Regions from separate parts of the Homo sapiens genome. Here regions 1, 2, 3, 4, 5 and 7 are each linked to region 6. Evidence: promoter capture Hi-C in 16 types of primary human blood cells and fetal thymus (Javierre and others, 2016). All regions are on one chromosome and are shown on one strand. The core of a region is centred on a gene start or on the middle of the fragment in contact, and the rest is flanking DNA. Distances in the headings are between cores, read along the strand shown. Region 1 has its middle 25 kb from the start of CR2. Region 2 overlaps CR1 (complement C3b/C4b receptor 1 (Knops blood group)). Region 3 overlaps CR2 (complement C3d receptor 2). Region 4 has its middle 59 kb from the start of CD55. Region 5 has its middle 3.0 kb from the start of CR2. Region 6 holds the start of C4BPB (complement component 4 binding protein beta). Region 7 overlaps CR1 (complement C3b/C4b receptor 1 (Knops blood group)).

What was found. Contacts are between HindIII fragments. The CHiCAGO score rates a contact against its expected background, and 5 or more counts as called.
Region 1: a contact is called between a fragment that was not itself captured here and the fragment with the promoter of C4BPB in region 6, in 8 of 17 cell types (naive CD8 T cells, non-activated CD4 T cells, naive CD4 T cells and 5 more). The highest score is 8.7, in naive CD8 T cells.
Region 2: a fragment that was not itself captured here is called in contact with the fragment with the promoter of C4BPB in region 6 in 6 of 17 cell types (naive CD4 T cells, naive CD8 T cells, total B cells and 3 more); the score reaches 9.4 in naive CD4 T cells.
Region 3: a contact is called between a fragment that was not itself captured here and the fragment with the promoter of C4BPB in region 6, in 12 of 17 cell types (total B cells, naive CD4 T cells, naive B cells and 9 more). The highest score is 13.5, in total B cells.
Region 4: a contact is called between a fragment that was not itself captured here and the fragment with the promoter of C4BPB in region 6, in 9 of 17 cell types (monocytes, naive CD8 T cells, naive B cells and 6 more). The highest score is 10.3, in monocytes.
Region 5: a contact is called between a fragment that was not itself captured here and the fragment with the promoter of C4BPB in region 6, in 15 of 17 cell types (total CD4 T cells, naive CD8 T cells, M2 macrophages and 12 more). The highest score is 13.3, in total CD4 T cells.
Region 7: a contact is called between a fragment that was not itself captured here and the fragment with the promoter of C4BPB in region 6, in 4 of 17 cell types (erythroblasts, M2 macrophages, megakaryocytes and 1 more). The highest score is 12.2, in erythroblasts.

The regions. Positions count from the first base shown.
Region 1 is chr1:207,427,655-207,430,437 of GRCh38, forward strand. No RefSeq gene overlaps it. Among named protein-coding and RNA genes, the nearest start is that of CR2, 25 kb to the right of the region's middle. The HindIII fragment of the contact is 3,250 bases long and covers 1-2,783 here.
Region 2 is chr1:207,522,052-207,524,751 of GRCh38, forward strand. It overlaps CR1 (complement C3b/C4b receptor 1 (Knops blood group)), which reads left to right. Exons shown (of 47, transcript NM_000651.6): 5 at 1,560-1,958. Among named protein-coding and RNA genes, the nearest start is that of CR1, 27 kb to the left of the region's middle. The HindIII fragment of the contact is 887 bases long and covers 945-1,831 here.
Region 3 is chr1:207,468,138-207,470,861 of GRCh38, forward strand. CR2 (complement C3d receptor 2) reads left to right here. Exons shown (of 20, transcript NM_001006658.3): 3 at 390-578; 4 at 663-762; 5 at 1,013-1,095; 6 at 1,558-1,965; 7 at 2,603-2,724. Among named protein-coding and RNA genes, the nearest start is that of CR2, 15 kb to the left of the region's middle. RefSeq lists an enhancer at 1,140-2,339. The HindIII fragment of the contact is 246 bases long and covers 1,147-1,392 here.
Region 4 is chr1:207,379,624-207,382,472 of GRCh38, forward strand. No RefSeq gene overlaps it. Among named protein-coding and RNA genes, the nearest start is that of CD55, 59 kb to the left of the region's middle. The HindIII fragment of the contact is 9,153 bases long and covers 1-2,849 here.
Region 5 is chr1:207,449,959-207,452,658 of GRCh38, forward strand. No RefSeq gene overlaps it. Among named protein-coding and RNA genes, the nearest start is that of CR2, 3.0 kb to the right of the region's middle. The HindIII fragment of the contact is 3,516 bases long and covers 1-2,700 here.
Region 6 is chr1:207,087,518-207,090,217 of GRCh38, forward strand. C4BPB (complement component 4 binding protein beta) reads left to right here and starts at 1,343. Exons shown (of 7, transcript NM_001017365.3): 1 at 1,343-1,429; 2 at 1,965-2,072. The coding sequence starts at 2,015. The HindIII fragment of the contact is 12,500 bases long and covers 1-2,700 here.
Region 7 is chr1:207,564,282-207,567,064 of GRCh38, forward strand. It overlaps CR1 (complement C3b/C4b receptor 1 (Knops blood group)), which reads left to right. Exons shown (of 47, transcript NM_000651.6): 24 at 1,557-1,642. Among named protein-coding and RNA genes, the nearest start is that of CR1, 70 kb to the left of the region's middle. The HindIII fragment of the contact is 1,317 bases long and covers 598-1,914 here.

The sequences.
Region 1 (2,783 bases), core at 276-2,775, 340 kb after region 6:
ATGAGATTTGCATTTTGAAGATATCACTCTCTGTGTGATGTCAAAAATGAATATGAATGGGAGGCACAAAAATTGAAGGGACATCAATTAAAAGAAAAGTGCATTATTTTAAGATAGAGATGGTAGCTTGGAATATGCTGGCAGAAGATATGGGAAGTATGGATAAAGAGGTATTTTGAACAAAAAATAGATGGATCTCAAAGATGGATTAGATATTGGAGAATGAAAAGCATGAGATATCATGGATGAACCTGAGATTTGTAAATTAGGTGACTGGATGCATGATGGTACTATTCAATGAGATTAGAAACATTGGCAGGAACCAATAACTTTGGAGGGAGTGTAAGAATTAAAGAAAGAGGAAAGATACATGAAAGGTGGCTTGACAGTTAAGGACGGGTTTATTTTAGAGAAAACAAACATGAGAGGGGCTTCTGGCTGAGTTAGGTTAGAGCCTACTTTCTTAGAGACTAAGAGTTTTTAAGGATTCAGGGTGGAAGAGTTTATCAGAGGCTTGTACTCCTTCTGTGTTTCTTTGTTGCACTTATCTGGGAGGGAGAGCTTTGTGTCTGTTCCCATACATCTTCCTGCAGCTGCAGGCATACCCACCCTCCTCCCAAGTCTGCTTTTAGCTTCCCTTAGTGCACTTAAATGGAAAGGAATGTGCTTATTAAGGCCCACTGTTTTACTGGGGCCCATTGTATGAGGGTGAAGTTTGGCAGTTACCCAAGAGACTTCCCCACCACCTCCCTCTGTGCCCCAGCTGTCTTATCTGTATTTTACTGTCTGCTCTTTCTGGGCACTTGTTGTTAGAAGAAAAGTGATTTCCTTGAAATGCATGAGGCTAGAAAAAGAGCTGGAACTTAAAGTGGCAGTGTTTGTCCAAGATGATGGTGCTCCTGCTCTGTCAGGGAGGACTGAGTTTGGTGTTTGACATATTGATACTGAAGTATCCACATGGAGAGGCAAAATAAGGTATACAGGGTCTTAGGCTTAGAAGACAGGTGTGAGCTCAATTTAGAATTTTTCAAGTCATAGACGTAATAGATACATTTGCCTGTGGAGATATAATAGAATGTGAAAAGAGCCCAGGATTCAGCCTCGAGAAACTCCAACATTTAATCACCAGACAGAGGAGGATAAACTGGAAAAAAAGATATATATGTATATAGAGAGGAAGAATGACCAGAGAGCTAAGCAGATAACCAGCAGATAATGATATCTGGGGAAGACAGCAGAACAAATTGTTTCAAGAAGAAAACAGTGGTTAATGTCAAATTCCACCAAGAACTGAAAAATGTTCATTGGCTTTGGCAATATGAAGGTGATCGTTAGTCATAATGAGAGAGACAGAGGCTAAATCAAAGTAGGTTGAACATTAGTAAAAGGTGTTGAAAAGGACAGGCCATCTGTAACTCTTTCAAGACATTAAGAAATTTGGCTGAGGCTGGGCACAGTTGCTCACACCTGTAATCCCAGCACTTTGGGAGGCTGAGGTGGGGAGATCACGAGGTCAGGAGATTGAGACCATCTTGGCCAACATGGTGAAACCCCATCTCTACTAAAATACAAAAAAATTAGCCGGGTGTGGTGGTGCGTGCCTGTAATCTCAGCTACTTGGGAGGCTGAGGCAGGGGAATCACTTGAATCCAGGAGGTGGAGGTTTCAGTGAACTGAGATCAAGCCACTGCACTCCAGCCTGGGTGACAGAGCAAGACTCCGTCTCAAAAAGTTAAAAAAGAAAAAGAAAGAAAGAAAGAAAGAAAGAAAGAAAGAAAGAAAGAAAGAAAGAAAGAAAGAAAGAAAGAGAGAAAGAAGGAAAGAAAGAAAGAAAAAGAAATTTAGCTCTGAAAGTGAGGAGAAAGGGTTAGAAGTTGGGGGAAGAAAGTCTTTTGAGATTTTTTTTAGCTCTTTTAAATGTCACGGGGAATGATCCAATGTTAGAACACAGTTGAAAATACAGGCAAGAGTGGAATTGTTTGATAGTTAAATGTTTCTGAAAAATCAGGAAAGAGTAGAATCCAAGACCTCATGTGAAAGAACTGACCTTCAATAAGAGAAGAGAGAAAATGGAAAAAAGAAAAGATGAATGCAGATGGAGGTTCCTAGAGTTGCTAGCAGGAAATTGGGAGACTAGATCTCCGACGGCTTCTCAGTGAAGAAGGAGGTGAGAAGACAGGCAGAAAAGGGTCAGTTATGGTTGGAAGGGTGAGGAGTATAAAGAAGATACAAAGTAATCATTGATAAAGTGAATTAAAAAGAGGAAAACAATGGTAAGGTTGCCACACAAGGTTGAGTCTATTTGAAATTAGTTATCCTGAATTTATCCACCAGTGCAACCTGCCATGTGGCTCTATCTCAGTGCTTAGGTAAGGAAAGCAGAAAGTAACAATGATTGAGGTTTGGGATTTTCTAAACAGTTGCCATAAGGAAGCAGGCAAAGGAGTTTGTTACTGGCAGGAGTGCTGTTGAACTTGTGGTATAGACTTTTGACTGATTAAGGAAGGAACTGAAGAAAGAGTGGGCAAATAGATTAGAATAAGGGGAAAGGCGACAGAAAGTTCTCATGAAGTCAAACGAAGGTCAAGCAGTTTGACACTGAAATAGGTAAGCTGAATGCAGTGGAGATTGTATGTAGACAGCAGGATGTCTGAATTAGAGATTTTGGAAGTGGTGCCATATTAGGACATGACAAAGTCTAGGGTGTTACCAAGGGGGTATTTTGTTGGAAGTATCTGCTTGAAATCATGTTAAATTTAAACCTCACTCTCCAAAGTCAGTAT
Region 2 (2,700 bases), core at 138-2,637, 430 kb after region 6:
TCATCAGTAATTGTGTGTGTTATTTTATCTCTCCAAATATCTGGTTATCTTTGATTGTGTATCAGGAATTCTATTTGAAAACTGTGTCTGTAGAAATAATTTCAAGGCCTTAGATAACCCATCTTCTTCCAGATGGAATTTTTGTCATTGTTTCTGCAGGCATCTGGGGACATTAGCAATCTAGGACCACTCTAATTCAGTCTCAGGAACTGTGATTTTCCAGGGCCACCCACAGTACCAGTACTTGAAGTACTAGTTCCAGTCTCTGAGACAGCAAATTTATTTTCAGTTAACCCTGATTACCAGGGCCTAGTTCTTGTGGCCTCAGAACACATCAGAAGGTATTACCAGGCCTTCCATTTGGGGCAGGCCCTGGACTTCCATTGTTGTCCCTTAACTTCATGAGAAAATCAAAAGTCTGTTCAGCCTCTCAGTTGCCCCGTCCTGATTCAGCTGCCCATTCCCAAACAATAAGCAGCCCAGTTGCCAAGCCCAAATACCCAGCTCTCAACTGGATTCTCATCTTCTCCTAGATCATGGCCCAGGAATGCTTCACTAGTTTGTTAGCTTTCTGATGCTTTAACAGATAAATATTTTTAATTCTCCAGTATTTCTAGCCTTTCTTGAGGGTGGATGGTTGGAGCAATATTTTATTTGAACTGTTGAGATTACTATTAGTAGAAGCAGAGCCTGAAAAATTTTTATTTTTAATTTTAATTCATTCATTTCTAAATTTATCCAATTAAATTCACTCAGTTTTAATTTCAAGTGTTTTGGGATTTGGGTTGAAGAAATTTTGTTCTAGTTTATAGCAACACAGTATACTATGTACTACTGCTATACTTTAAAATGTATTTAGGGGTTTTTGTGGACTAATATATGATCACTTTTACACAGATATCATCTTATGATATCAAACTTAGATTTGATGAAATGAGTTGGTAAGCTTCATATCTTTTATATGTTGTGAAACCTTGAAATTACATTTGGAAGTATATTTTTGAATGAATTTTGGTAATTTGTATTTCCATTTATATCATTTAGATTTTCAAAATATTTAACCCCCTGTAGTCTACAGTTTTATAAATATTCTCATATACATAAAAATATGTTTAAATTCTTTTTCCTACTGTGTATATTTGTGTTTTCTCTCATCCCTTATACTTTATCTTTTAGCAAATGTTTTTGTATTTTATTTTTCTAAAAAAGCTAACCTTGGTTAATAACAAAAATGGAAATTAAGAAAGCAAACGGAAAAGAGTAGGAGAAAACTGTATAAATACTATAACACTATGATCAAAGAGCTATTTAAAATGAAAAGAATGTGGATTGAGTTAATACATGCATGCAAATACTATAGGAAATCATATCAGTAAGAAAGGCAGGACACATCATATTATGCCCATTGAAGCTACAACTTTATAAAAATGTACCTATGTGTTAGCAAAGATTAAAAGCAAATAATGAATGTAAAAATAGCTATAGTTTAGTGACTCATGAGATTTCTGTCATTCATTATTTAAACTGACTGTTATTTATCCTGCTCTTCCTTTTTCCAGGAATTCCTTGTGGGCTACCCCCCACCATCACCAATGGAGATTTCATTAGCACCAACAGAGAGAATTTTCACTATGGATCAGTGGTGACCTACCGCTGCAATCCTGGAAGCGGAGGGAGAAAGGTGTTTGAGCTTGTGGGTGAGCCCTCCATATACTGCACCAGCAATGACGATCAAGTGGGCATCTGGAGCGGCCCCGCCCCTCAGTGCATTATACCTAACAAATGCACGCCTCCAAATGTGGAAAATGGAATATTGGTATCTGACAACAGAAGCTTATTTTCCTTAAATGAAGTTGTGGAGTTTAGGTGTCAGCCTGGCTTTGTCATGAAAGGACCCCGCCGTGTGAAGTGCCAGGCCCTGAACAAATGGGAGCCGGAGCTACCAAGCTGCTCCAGGGGTGAGTCTGACTGAGGCCTAGAAGGGCCCTGCCAGTGACATGCGTTGCTGTTGGATCAGGAGATTAGTATTTGTTCAGGGGGAGGGATGTGTGCTGAGCAGGGTCGAGGAGCAAATTTTCTAGGTAGTGAACATGAAATTCAGAAGGTGTGTGTACATGCACATGTGCTGAAATTGCGAAGCAAAGCTCAACCTGGGCAAGGGATATGATGTTTCTTTGGGGTTCTTATAAACAGATCTATCAATTACCTTTGAGTATAATAATGGTTGATACAAAATGAGTGATTCCTCTGGCCGGGCACTATAATACAGGCTACATGTGAATTTTAATCCTTAAAACAAAGTTATTAGGTAGTTACCAGTTGTTCTATGTTTGTCTGTATTGTTTTGCTTGAGATACTGTCTTGATCTGTCACTCACGTTGAACTGCTGTGGTGCCATCATGACTTACTTCAACCTCCGCCTCTCTGGCTCAAGCAAGTCTCCTGCCTGAGCCTCCCAAGTAGCTGGGAATATAGGTGCATGCCACCATGCCTGGATAAGTTTTTTATATATTTTTTGTAGGGATAGAGTCTCACCATGTTGCCCAGGCTGGTCTCGAACTCCTCAGCTCAAGCAATTCACCCACCTTGGCCTCCCAAAGTGCTGGGATTATAGGCATGAGCCACCGTGCCCGGCCTCTATGTTTTATAGAGAATATGTGCCTTAGACACATCAGATAACATTCTGAGACAGTAACTTGC
Region 3 (2,724 bases), core at 20-2,519, 380 kb after region 6:
ACCTGTTTGATCTTTAAAAGACTAGGTTGAAAGTTAATACCAACTGGCTACCATAGATCATGTGTCATTTATTTAAATCCATATCCTAAGTCAGCATCTCGATCAAGCTTGTCCAACTCGCTACCCGTGGACAGCATGTGGCCCAGGATGGCTTTGAATGTGGCCCAACAGAAATTCATAAACTTTCTTAAACCATTATGAGATTTTTTTTTTGCAATTTTTTTAGCTTATCAGCTATCATTAGTGTTAGCGTATATTATGTGTGGCCCAAGACAATTTTTCTTCTTCCAATGTTGCCCAGGGAAGCCAAAAGATTGGACCCCCTTGATTCTAGATTGTGAAGGATGCATCATCTGACGGCTTTTTTTTCCTGGTATGTGTGTGTAAAGTTTTCCCTCTCGAGTGTCCAGCACTTCCTATGATCCACAATGGACATCACACAAGTGAGAATGTTGGCTCCATTGCTCCAGGATTGTCTGTGACTTACAGCTGTGAATCTGGTTACTTGCTTGTTGGAGAAAAGATCATTAACTGTTTGTCTTCGGGAAAATGGAGTGCTGTCCCCCCCACATGTGAAGGTACCCTAAATTTACAATCTATTTTAAGAATCTGGGCTGTTCTGTTATTTGCCATGCATTTCTCATCTTTGGTTTGTTTTTTAGAGGCACGCTGTAAATCTCTAGGACGATTTCCCAATGGGAAGGTAAAGGAGCCTCCAATTCTCCGGGTTGGTGTAACTGCAAACTTTTTCTGTGATGAAGGGTGAGTGTCAGGATTATTTATGAGATTTAATTCATTTGTCTTGTGTGTGCGTGGTGTGGACTGTGAAACCTGCAGAAGTCTCCTCTGTGAGGATCTCTGGGCAGTCTGGGGTAGGGTTGTGAGAGGTAATGCTGATAAAAGGAACAGATGCACACTGATTGAAATGAACTTGTCTTGAATTGTAAGTAGAGGCTGCTGTTCTTCAGCACAAACTGCCTAATAGTTCTGAATGACAACCTTCTGTCTCCAGGTATCGACTGCAAGGCCCACCTTCTAGTCGGTGTGTAATTGCTGGACAGGGAGTTGCTTGGACCAAAATGCCAGTATGTGAAGGTAGGCTAGGCAACTATGGTCTGACAGCACTGCATTCTCAGCTTAACTAAAAGCTTTTGGTTCAGTCATTACCTTACAGACTCTTACTGAACACAGAACTCCTAGAGATCTTTAAGGATATGTGCTTCACCAAAGCATCCTTATTTTTTGTTTCCTCAAGTAAAATGGGGTTCCTAGGCTTTCCCTCCTCTGAAAGCTATGCAGACCTTCTAAGTAGGTAGACCATATGCATAAAGAAAATAGTGTATTTGGTAAAAGAAATCAAAGGATCAGCAGAGTACATATACTCAGGAATGAAGCTTGAGAATCAATCTTCTAAATTATGTTGCTTTAGCTGCCTTGACTGATTCATTATAGACTCGGATATCACTGTCCTAGGATAGTGGTATCAAGCAGCATCTGGGGCATTCTTTGTTTTCAATACACCTATGATCTTGTCATTTCTTTCTGCAATTCCCCTAGAAATTTTTTGCCCATCACCTCCCCCTATTCTCAATGGAAGACATATAGGCAACTCACTAGCAAATGTCTCATATGGAAGCATAGTCACTTACACTTGTGACCCGGACCCAGAGGAAGGAGTGAACTTCATCCTTATTGGAGAGAGCACTCTCCGTTGTACAGTTGATAGTCAGAAGACTGGGACCTGGAGTGGCCCTGCCCCACGCTGTGAACTTTCTACTTCTGCGGTTCAGTGTCCACATCCCCAGATCCTAAGAGGCCGAATGGTATCTGGGCAGAAAGATCGATATACCTATAACGACACTGTGATATTTGCTTGCATGTTTGGCTTCACCTTGAAGGGCAGCAAGCAAATCCGATGCAATGCCCAAGGCACATGGGAGCCATCTGCACCAGTCTGTGAAAAGGGTGAGTGTTCCGGTACTCAGAAAAGGTGCTTCTGATTCGTTTCTGAAAAATTAGAAGAAGGGGTTGTGGGCTTTAGGTAGGGCCTTGTCCAGTTTATACTTCCCTCAAATCTACTACATCTAATCAATATAAATTTTGTAGAGGGCATTCTTATCACTAGCCCCCCACCATTGTTTTATTTTGTGGGAATATGCTTGGAAAAAATGTTAGGAATCACTAAGTTTCTCATTTCTATAGGGGAAAAAATGAGGAGAAAAATGCTTGTTTGTCTTAATAGTGACTTCTTAAAAGAGAAGTCATTCAAGCCCTCATTCCTAGGGATATATCAGAATCTCCCATAAAAAACATACAAGATGATTCCTTATGAAGGGAAGAGGCAGGAGAGGAGTTGCAGAACCCAGTGGAAAGTGAACAACATCTGCAGCAGCCTCTGTGCAGAAAACAACAACAACAACAACAACAAAAGATTGGGAAACTGTGATCTAAAATTACCCAAAGCTGGTCTGCAACATATGTTCTGTATCATACAGCTGACGCCAGAGTGGAATTATAGCATGAATATCAATTTCTTTGGCTCAGTTTCTTTCTGTGGTTGTTTACTTAAGCAGTTATGTTTTGTTTTTGTCCTTTCATTTAGAATGCCAGGCCCCTCCTAACATCCTCAATGGGCAAAAGGAAGATAGACACATGGTCCGCTTTGACCCTGGAACATCTATAAAATATAGCTGTAACCCTGGCTATGTGCTGGTGGGAGAAGAA
Region 4 (2,849 bases), core at 252-2,751, 290 kb after region 6:
AGAGACAGGGTCTTGCTGTGTTGCCCAGGCTGGTCTTGAACTCCTGGCCTCAAGCGATCCTCCCACCTCGTCCTCCCAAAGTGCTTGATTACAGGCATAAGCCACCAAGCACAGCTATCAATACTATTTTTATCAATAAATAAGTATAGATTTTGCTTTAATTCAGATGTTACATTAATTACATTAATTCTAGCACTACCAAATCATTAAATTACAAGGAATTTTACATTTAAAGTAAGTAAATAAAATATATATTTATGTCAAATAAAATTTGGAAATAGATTCAGTTCTATAAGAGATTTTAATATATGATGAAGAAATAATAGATTATGGTATGGTTTGTTAAATTAATAGTGCTGCCATAATTGATAATTGATTAAAACAATAATCCCTTGCTTTGTAAGTTTTCATAAAAGTTATTTTCTCATTTTAATAGAATATGTGTTGTGACAAGTGGTCCACAACCCTAGATAACAATGAAAAACATATCATTATTATTTTTTGAAGTGATATTAAGCATTTTACTCTGAAATTGCTTTAGTATTTTTAACTAATCATAGTGTTTAAATTATGATGGTTTATTCTCAGTTTTAAAATTCATTTCATCAATACATTGATAAAAGATTGTTTCAGAAACTTTAAAATATTTAAAGGTAGAACTTATTTAATATGTGCTTTTAATTATGTCTCTTGATGATTATAACTATTCTTTATTTCAGCATGAGTTTTACAAAATTTTAGTCCTGTTTTGGTGAATCTATGAATGTTCCCACTTTTAAAGATACAACATTTAAGTGCCATTTGCATCCATTTTCTTTTTCAGTATTTTTTTCCTCAATATGAAAGGATACTTAAGAGTTTTCTGGCATTTCCTGATGTTTCTCAGTTAAGACTTTTACTGCACTTTTTTTTTTTTTTTTTTTTTTTTGAGATGGAGTCTCACTCTGTCACCCAGGCTGAAGTGCAGTGGTGTGATCTCAGCTTACTGCAACCTCCGCCCCCTGGGTTCAAGTGATTCTCCTGCCTCAGCCTCCCAAGCAGCTGGGACTACAAGCACATGCCACCAAGCCTTGCTAATTTTTTTTTTTTTTCTGTGTTTTTAGTAGAGACGTGGTTTCACCATATTGGTCAGGCTAGTCTTAAACTCCTGACCTCGTGATCTGCCTGCCTCAACAGGCATGAGCCACCGCACCCGGCGACCTTTTCTACTATATCAGGTGATGTTCCAGGCTGTAGCACATTGATATAATCTTATTTTCTCAGAGATTCAGAAGATTCATATTAATAATAGTAAAAAGAGGAACATTAAGAAACATATTCAGAATTTGTTGGATGTTTATTTTCAATATTAATACACCTTATTCACTAAGTATCAAAGTACTACATATTTACTAGTCACATATAAATCTCACTCTAACCATAATATCAAATCAAACTAGTTAGAAACAAGCAGGTATGAGCAAAAGAAGTGTTATGATTTAAATTATCATTAAAAAGATAGTTAATATGCATATTGGATAAATATCCACGTTAAAACAATTTTAAGAGTGAGGCAAATCGAGTTTTAAAATTTTTACAAGCCATTATTTTATTACACAGGAATCTTATTCCTGCACCAAGGAAAAAGGAAGCTCAATTAGCTCATTCAGAACTTTTCTTCCTTAAGTTCATGTGACATTACTTCAATTATATCGTGAATTTAAAGGAGGACATCTCAAAATATTATTCATAGTTAACAAATTCCAGGTCATTGGCATTATTATATGGCTCTGTGTTCAATACAGGTTATTCTATTGATTTAATTTGCTTAAATGTTTTCACTCATTCAAAATAATGACAAATTGAAATTAAATATATCTTATTTGAAAAGAGTTGACATATTTCCACTAAGGATTCTTCTTTTCCAGGAACAGGAATAAGGACAACTTGACACTTTGATCTTCTTTACCAATAACTGATCTGTTAAAAATAACTTGGGTACTATGCTTACTACGTGGGTGACAAAATAACCTGTACAACAAACCCCCATGACATGAATTTACCTATATGACAAACCTGCACATGTACCCCGAACCTAAAATAAAAGTTTAAAAAACAAATAAATACTTTGGAAGGTTGAGGCAGGTGGATTGCCTAAGCTCAGGAGTTCGAGACCAACCTGGGCAACACGGTGAAACCCTGTCTCTACTAAAATACAAAAAATTAGCCGGGAATGGTGGTGTGCCTGTAGTCCCAGCTACTCAGGAGGCTGAGGCAGGAGAATTGCTTGAACCGGGGAGATGGAGCTTGCAGTGAGCCGAGATCACGCCACTGTACTCCAGCTCTGGGTGATGGAGTGGGACTCCATCTCTTAAAAAAATAAAAAAAATAAGTAAATAAATAAAAATAAATGGTCTGGTTACACATTTTTTTTCACTTCTTACGTAAGTTTTGGTAATTTATTTTTCTTAGAAAAATTGCTTTTGAATCCGTTTTTTCATTTATAAGAATAATTTGTGCCTATAATCACAGTACTTTGGGAGGCTGAGGCAGGCAGATCACTTGAGGTCAGGAGTTCAAGACCAGCCCGGCCAATATGCTAAACCTCGTCTCTACTAAAAATACAAAAACTAGCCAGGCATGACGGTGCATGCCTGTAATCCCTGCTACTTGGGAGGCTGAGGCAGGAGAATCACTTGAACTTGGGAGGCGGAGGTTGCAGTGAGCCGAGATCACACCACTGCACTCCAGCTTAGGTGACAGAGAGAGGCTCCACCTCAAAAAAGAAAAAAACAAAAAAGAATAATTTGTTATTTTATAATTATTTCAATTTCCTCCCTTTTTTGCTCATTTGTTTTTTCAATGAAAAT
Region 5 (2,700 bases), core at 111-2,610, 360 kb after region 6:
ATGAGGTCATTGTAAAATATATAATGTGTTCAATGGAGCTAAGTAGTAAGAGAAGAAAAATAGACCAAAGAAGGGGATATGAATGGAAAGGGAGGTAAAAGTGTAAGAGGATATCTAGGAAAGATCTCACTGAGAAGGTATCTTCGAGTAAAGACTAGAATGAAATGAGGGAGCTGGCCACTGGGGCTATTCAGGAGAAAAACAATCTGGACAGAGCAAACAAGACCCTCCGAGGGCAAAGGACCCCAGTCAGAGTGCAAAGAATACTAGAGCAGCAAAGGCCATTGTGGCCAGAGGGAGAAAAGAAGGAGAAAAGGGTCAAAGATGAACTCAGAGAAGTTAAAGGAAAGCAGATCACATTGGACTGAATGGATCATAGTTATGACATTGCCTTCTACTTTGAATGAGATAGGAAATTATTGGAGGGTTTGGAGCAGAAGGCAGTGATTTCTTTTTTCCTGACAAACATGTAAACAGGATCACTGCAAGATACTAGACACCAACACACTCATCTACAGAGGAGTTGAGTTTTTGTGTTGCTGAGAAGTGTTTATTAATAAAAATATATTTGGGAAATTTATGAGGGCAGACAAGAATAAGCATGAAAAGAATCATGAATCTAACTGTAAAATAAATGAAACAATACACGTGCAAGAAGAAAACATGGATGAATTATTGTGTAACCTGGAGAATGGTTTTTAAAACCATGGCTCCTAATCCAGATGCAATAAAAGAAAAGATTTATCAACTTGACTGCATTAAAACAGACAATGCTTACAAGGCAAAACGATGCCATAAACAAAGTCAAAAGACAACTGACAAACTGGGAGGAAACATTTGCAAAACACATCCAGAATAACAATCCTAATATATATAAATAAGTCTCAAACATTGAGAGAGGAAAAGGCAAATATACATGATAAAAATATATTTTATAAATGTTCAGCGTTACTCATAGGGAATGCAAATTAAAGCTACACTGAGATAAAATGTCTCATTTATTAGACTGACTAAAATTTAAAACCATGATGACAGCACATTAGATTAATGAGGTGCTCTCACACAGTTTTGTAGGAATATATGTGGTACAACTCTTATTAAGGAAATTTGGCAATATCTAACAAACCTACATATGTGTTTACCATTTGACCCAGCAATCCCACTTCTAGGAATTTGAACTGAAGACATGCTTCTAACAGCAGAAAAATAAATATTCACAAAGTTACTCTTTAGAGCATTAAAAACAACCAAACTGTCCATACATAGGGAGATGGTTGAATAAACTATGGCATATCCACACAGTGAAGTATTGCATGCAACTGTAAAAATGAATGAGGAATATTTGAATTTGTAGGAAATAGTGGATTCCAGCATATTTGTTAAGTTAAAAAAGAAATGTGCAAAAGAATACCTATAGCATGCTTTTAAAATGTAATAAAAAAGGAGAACTAAGAAGACAAATGTGTAGCAGCTCATTTGAGCAAAACTAAGGACAAACCAGAAACTACTGAAATTGAGTACCTATGGTGGAGAGGATAGAGGTGATGGAGAGAAGTGACATTTCCCTTTTATTGTGTCTTTTTATATCAATCTGACATTTGGGACTACGTTAATGTTTTATTTAAGCAAAAAAAAATCAAAAAGATTGAGGGGAAACTAAAATAGAATACAAAGAGAAACAAATTAACAGTATTTTGAATGAATAACAATCACACTGAAGAGGGGGAATAATCTGAGTAACTTTGGAACACAACAATGCTGTTTTTATATTTTCGGGCTATAAACAAAATAAAACTTTAAAAACGAGTAGATTTGATTTCCATCATAGTATAGAAATAGCAATTTTAAACTTCTTTCTGTGTATTCTAGGATTAAGCAAATAAGTAAATATATTGTGGATCTAGGTGTCTCACTGTTGAAGAAGGGAGTTACACATGCAGAAAGAGGGAAGGACAGAATGAACTCTATGCTAACGGACTGAAATTGGAAGAATCACTGTGAATTCATGACATATATAAATATAGATATGGGAATGGATATACATATATATATATAATACATATCCTTGCTCTGTCTGCTGAGAGGGTGCGGAAACAATGATACTCCAATAAAAATGAACACACTTAGCATCCAATTCTGGCATCTAAATGCCATTCTCTGCCAGAAAGAACCAGCATTCCTTGGAGAAACAGCAAATTCCAGTGTCAGGTCTAGAGGTGAGTCTGGAGCATTTTTTTTTGTGTGTGTGCCAGAAAGTAAGGAAGTGCTCAAAGAACAATAAGAACAAGTCAAAATGACATAGGAACTATTTTGAGGGCTCCCACTGGCCCGATCAGGGAGAATTTAAGCATCAAAATAAATAATGGTAGCCATGAATTATGACCCATTGAGTAAATAAATAAAATTCATATTGATATAGTTTATGCTGATATAGATAAATGAATAAATAAATAGAGAAGGGAAAACTTTTATTTACAGTAAAATGCCAACAGATGAATATAGAAGTAATTATTAAATTAGGAAAAAACACCCTTTGACAACCATCATAGTAAAAATTGATTCAAGAAAGGATCATCAATAGACGCTAAAATTTGTGGGTAAAAATTTGATGAAAAAATGAGGAATTTACATAGTTTTAAAGTATCTCCCTATAAAATACTTATTAATTACAAAGGGAAAAATACTGAGTCTACACTAAGA
Region 6 (2,700 bases), core at 93-2,592:
TGCATTACTTTCATTCATTTAACAGACAACTGCTTTGCAATATGAAGCACCGTGGAAGGGAATACAAATACAAATCAGACACAAACCCTGTCCTGGAGTTAGCAGTTTCCTGTGGGAATAAAGGGGAGGAAAAAAACACCTTTCCTCTACCATATTGTATTCAGTGGCTGGGACCTGCAAATTAGACTAAGACAGATTAACAGGAGAGAAAATTCTATTTATACATGTAACTTGAGTACATGTGGGAAAACTCAGTGATAAGTAATTCAAAAAGTTGGTTAGAATTGGGGCTTATACATCATCTTAATAGGTGAAGGTGGGGAGAAGAAAGGCACTTACAAGAAAACAGATTATTGGCCGGGTGCGGTGGCTCATGCCTATAATCCCAGCACTTTGGGAGGCCAAGGCGGGTGGATCATTTGAGGTCAGGAGTTCAAGACCAGTTTGGCCAACATGGTGAAACCCCATCTCTACTAAAAATACAAAAATTAGCCAGGCGTGGTAGCGCATGCCTGTAATCTCAGCTACTCGGGAGACTGAGGCACAAGAATGGCCTGAACCTGGCAGGTGGAGGTTGCAGTGAGCCAAGATCATGCCAAGACACCATCTCAAACAAAAAAGAAAACAGATTATTTTTTGGAAAGGCAAGTGGGTTTTCAGGGGAAAAGTAGGAAATTAGAAAGTTTTGTGATAATGTTTGTGTATATAAGTACGAGTGTTCTTTCTGTCTCCTTCAAGGCCATGAAATTTCTCTGGAGAAGGAATTTGAAATATGTTTTACTCATGCTCTCCCCTCCAGGATAGACCTACCCTGAAAAGGAATTTATGGCAACCTTATCTCCAAGGTTGCTGCCTTTAGTCAGATAAGGAAAGCCCCCAAAATCTCTGTTCCTTTCCATATCACTGAATCTCAAATATCTTCAGCTTAAAAGAATCTTAACGCCAAATATTTGGGGGTGGCATATCCTGATTCCTTTCAGGAGAAAGACATAGATTAATCATCACAAACAGTAGTAATGGATGGAGAAGAGAAGAACATTTGCAACCTTACTGTGTCCTTAATGCTTTATTATTCTATTAAAACCTGAAATTTTGTAGGAATTTTTCCCCAGTTTCATAATTACAGCACAGAGAACCAACCAAGGGTTATAGTAGTCACAAGCAAGATGATATGGGATCCCTCAAAACAATTTTACATGCCTTAATTCCTGAGACCAAAGCATTCTCCTCACCTCTCTCTTTACTCATTTGGTTAACTCTGGACTCAGGCCAAATCCTGTCCCTGGAAGAGCCACAAAGTAGGAAGCCTGGGTACAGGCCTGGCAAGCGAGAACAATGTGTCACTGCAGGACTTTGGAGCTCTCAGCTTTGGAGTCAGTTAAGACCAGTTCCTTGCTGGGAAGCCCTAACTCTGGAGGGACAGAGACAGGTAAGGTTAGTTTACTTCCTTGAGCTTTCGTCTTCAGTGCTGCTTACAGCCTTAGGATATCTGGTATTCAGGAAAGGAGGATGAGGTAGCATTCAAAATTGTGTTCTACCTGGGCAAGAACCAGGGATTGACAGCCCGTTCTCTTTCCCCAGTGCTGGCCAGAGTTACAGAAGTTGGACTGTAAACATTGGCAACTATTGACAGAAGTCAAGGTCATGGCAAGACCATTTGGCCCATGTTTGTTGGGGAAGGATAAGCCTGCGTTTCAAAAAGACTGGTCAACTGGATTTGCATTCCCAGAAACCAGGAAATTTCTGAAACTGAGTTTTAAACCTGGCAACTCTTTTACCATCCCTTTGTATTTTTGCAGTTCCTCCCTATACCAGCTTCCTTACAGCTGTTCTGATTTCCTGTCGTAAGATTTTTTCTTTTCATTTTCTCCAGGGAGGGTAAATCAATATAACCTCTTCTCTAGAGAGGAGGTGGTTAGGTTGGTCTTAAGCAGTGTTAGAAGATCTATTTTTTTTCAAACCAGGTGTCTGAGCTGGGTGAATTCCAGCCTGGGGAGAGGACTTTGATCACCAGATGTTTTTTTGGTGTGCGTGCTGTCTTATGGTTGCGTGGCGAGTTTCTGCTTCAGATGGTACGTATGCTTTCCTTCAACTCAGCTTACAGGCATTTGGTGTCCTTTTGCGGTGTTTTGAGGAACTCTGTCTAGGGCTTTAAGGAAGTTTACATTTATAATATCTTTATTCTTCTATTGAAAAATCTCAAATTGGCCTAATGCTCTGCACTCAATAGGAGCTTAGTGTACATTTAATGATAACCCTGATCTCTGAAGTGGGTGGTTACTGTTTTTTTACTTTCCCTTTCTGTTCTGGGAGCAAAAAGAGTACCAATTTCAAAATCCTGGGAGGTCTTACTTGTTATAAACTCCAGGATCGCTATTTGTGTAGGGGACTATTTGTTTAGAAGTGGACAACTTGTGGTTGAATTTGAGTAAAATTCCTGTTATACTTTTGAAAATAAAACTTCGGAATTCCGGCCGGGCGCAGCGGCTCAAGCCTGTAATCCCGGCACTTTGAGAGGCCGAGGTGGGCGGATCACGAGGTCAAGAGATCGAGACCATCCTGGCTAAGACAGTGAAACCCCGTCTCTGCTGAAAATACAAAAAATTAGCTGGGCGTGGTGGCGGGTGCCTGTAGTCCCGGCTACTTGGGAGTAGAATACAGAGTACTTGGGAAGAGCACAGGAATCAGGATCAATAATCC
Region 7 (2,783 bases), core at 6-2,505, 480 kb after region 6:
GAATCAGTCTAAAAAGGGGAGATTTGGTGTGGCTTAAAAGAAAGACACACACACACACACACACCTTCAGAGAGATGAACTTTCGAAAGTATACCTAGGAAGAAAGGAAAGAAACATATAGAACTAATAACATGAGATATGAAGAGGAAACTGGAACATATATTAACTGGCAAGTTCAAAGGCAAGTATAACTAGTGGTTATGAATATATAGGTAACACATTAAGCAAAAAATATCAGCCAGGCACGGTGGCTCACGTGTGTAATCCCAGCACCTTTGGGAGGTTGAGGCAGGCAGATCACCTGAGGTCAGGAGTTGGAGACCAGCCTGGACAACATGGTGAAACCCTGTCTCTACTAAAAATACAAAAGTTAGCTGGGTTTGGTGGCATGTGCCTGTAATCCCAGCTACTCCGGAGGCTGAGGCACCAGAATCACTTGAACCTGGGAGGTGGAGTTTGCAGTGAGCCGAGATGGCACCATTGCACTCCAGCGTGAACAATGAGTGAAACTCCATCTCAGGAAAAAAATCATATTTTACAAGCAAAAGGGAATATGAGTAATTTAGAGAGTCCCAGGAAAAATTGCAAGTAATGAAAAGCTTATTATTAAAAGCTAGGATCCTTTAAGAATCATTTCAGTAAATTCTTTAAACCATCAACAGTGAAATTTGTAATAGGACTGAAAATGTAAAAATCAGCATTTTTTTAAAAATTCAGTCATATATCTTCTGGCTAGTCATGGGCTCTGGGCTCTGAGCTGGGGTCGTGATGGCTGCTGTTAATATTCCCAGCAAGGTCATTACCTTGTTTATGTCCATCTAGTGCTCTTCACAGCGTGCACATCTCTACACAGGAGCTGACCGGCATGGGCAACAAAGCACCTGATCCCATAATGTAACACAGAATCTTGGCAGCCTCCAAATGCCAGCACCCAGTAAGAGTTAGGAGGGCATCAGGGTCCAAAAGACTGAGAATTTTCGACAATTGCATACAAAAATCATGTCCTCTCTTCTTTCCTTTTTCCCCTAGAATATTCATGCTTACTCTTCAGCAGCCCAAACTGCCCTTTTGAGCCTTCTTCACGCCATCACAGATGTGGAGATGAAAGGACAATCTCTGTTCTCTCGCCAGCTATTTCCCACTTTTCCACTCCAAACTGGGAGCTGTTTTACTTGCTGTTCCAGGGTCAGAGTTAGGAAGGCATTACATTAGAAGACTGGGTTTCTAATAACAACAATGAGTGATTTATCAGGTTATCATGGAGTAATCAGTGAAACTCCAAGCCTGGGTCCTGGGTCAAGGGGATGGCGCCTATGTCATGACCACCTTTTTCAATTCAAGCAGGACTATCATGTGACCAAGCTACTACATTTTGCCATTCTATATTGTTCCCTTCTGGAGGCTGTGATTTTTCCAGAATAAGGTAGCCTGTGCAACTCTGCCATCTGCTGGCCTCAGATCCTCAAAATCCTGAAATTGGGGCTGGGCCTTAGATTGTGAACTAAGTGTCCTCTTGGCTGAAACAGCTCACTATTCACTCCTATTTTCTTCTTTAGATTTCAATTAAAAGGCAGCTCTGCTAGTTATTGTGTCTTGGCTGGAATGGAAAGCCTTTGGAATAGCAGTGTTCCAGTGTGTGAACGTGAGTAATAGGAGCAACATTTCAGGCCAATCTCTCCCCTTCATCTGTTCACTATTTGTCCTATGGCCTCCCTCAATGTGATTCTTCAATATTCTAGTCTTAATTATCGATTTAAAAATAGTTTATTTTAATAATGTTTGGTTGTGAATCAATATGTACATCACCTGTCTTTGCAACCATCTGATCTGTCTCTGTCCTTCTGCATTCTCTGTTCTAGTGCGATAAATCCTTTGGTCTTGTGCTCCTAGGTCAGGAGAGATTAGATAATGTGAAGCTTTAACAATTTTCTTTCTTTCTCTAGTTTTTTCTTTCTTTTTTCTCTTCCTTCCATCCTTCAGTTCTTTCTTCCCTTCTTCTCTCCTTCTCCCCTTTCTTCTTTCCTTCCTCCCTTCTTTCTTTTTCATTTTGTTCTCCCATCAAAGTGCAGTCAGTCTACAATTTATATATATATGATAATACACAAATATTGAACATGGCTTTATTTAATCAATATTTATTGATCACATACTTTGTGCCTGATGTTCATCTAGCCACTGGAGTTATATCAATGAACAAGATGGATGAATTCCCTGTCCCCATGTTGTTTCTACTTAGGTGGGGAGAGGGACAAGAAAAAAAATAAATTCAATGCTATGAGACAATAGAGCAAAGCACTGAGGAATGAGGCAAAAATGGGGAGCAACATTAGACAGGGTGAGCAGTTTGAGACTCCTTAAATTCTCAAAACATGTACCTAAATAATTTATGCTGAGAGATTCATAAATAATAAGTCATTTTTTTAAAATGAGCCTCATATGTTCAATAATCAGTAGACTACTGATTTCTCCTAGTCTACCCATGTATAATTTCCCCAATGGAAGATAGAACTTTGCTTCAATTCTTGATTCTAATGATTGGAAAACGTGTTTCTTTAGAAAATCATGAAATTTTACTAAAATGTTTATGTTGTTAGAAATATACTTGGACATCTTACAGTGATTTTTAGAGTAAAATTTTGGAAGAACATAACTTATATAGAGATTCTTGCTGTCTAAGAAATCCAGTGCTCCTTGAAGCAGTATGACAAGTGTCTGTTCTACTATCATGAATGAAAGCTCATTAACTGGACTACTCAAGCTTTCTCTTATTTTTCATAACTCTT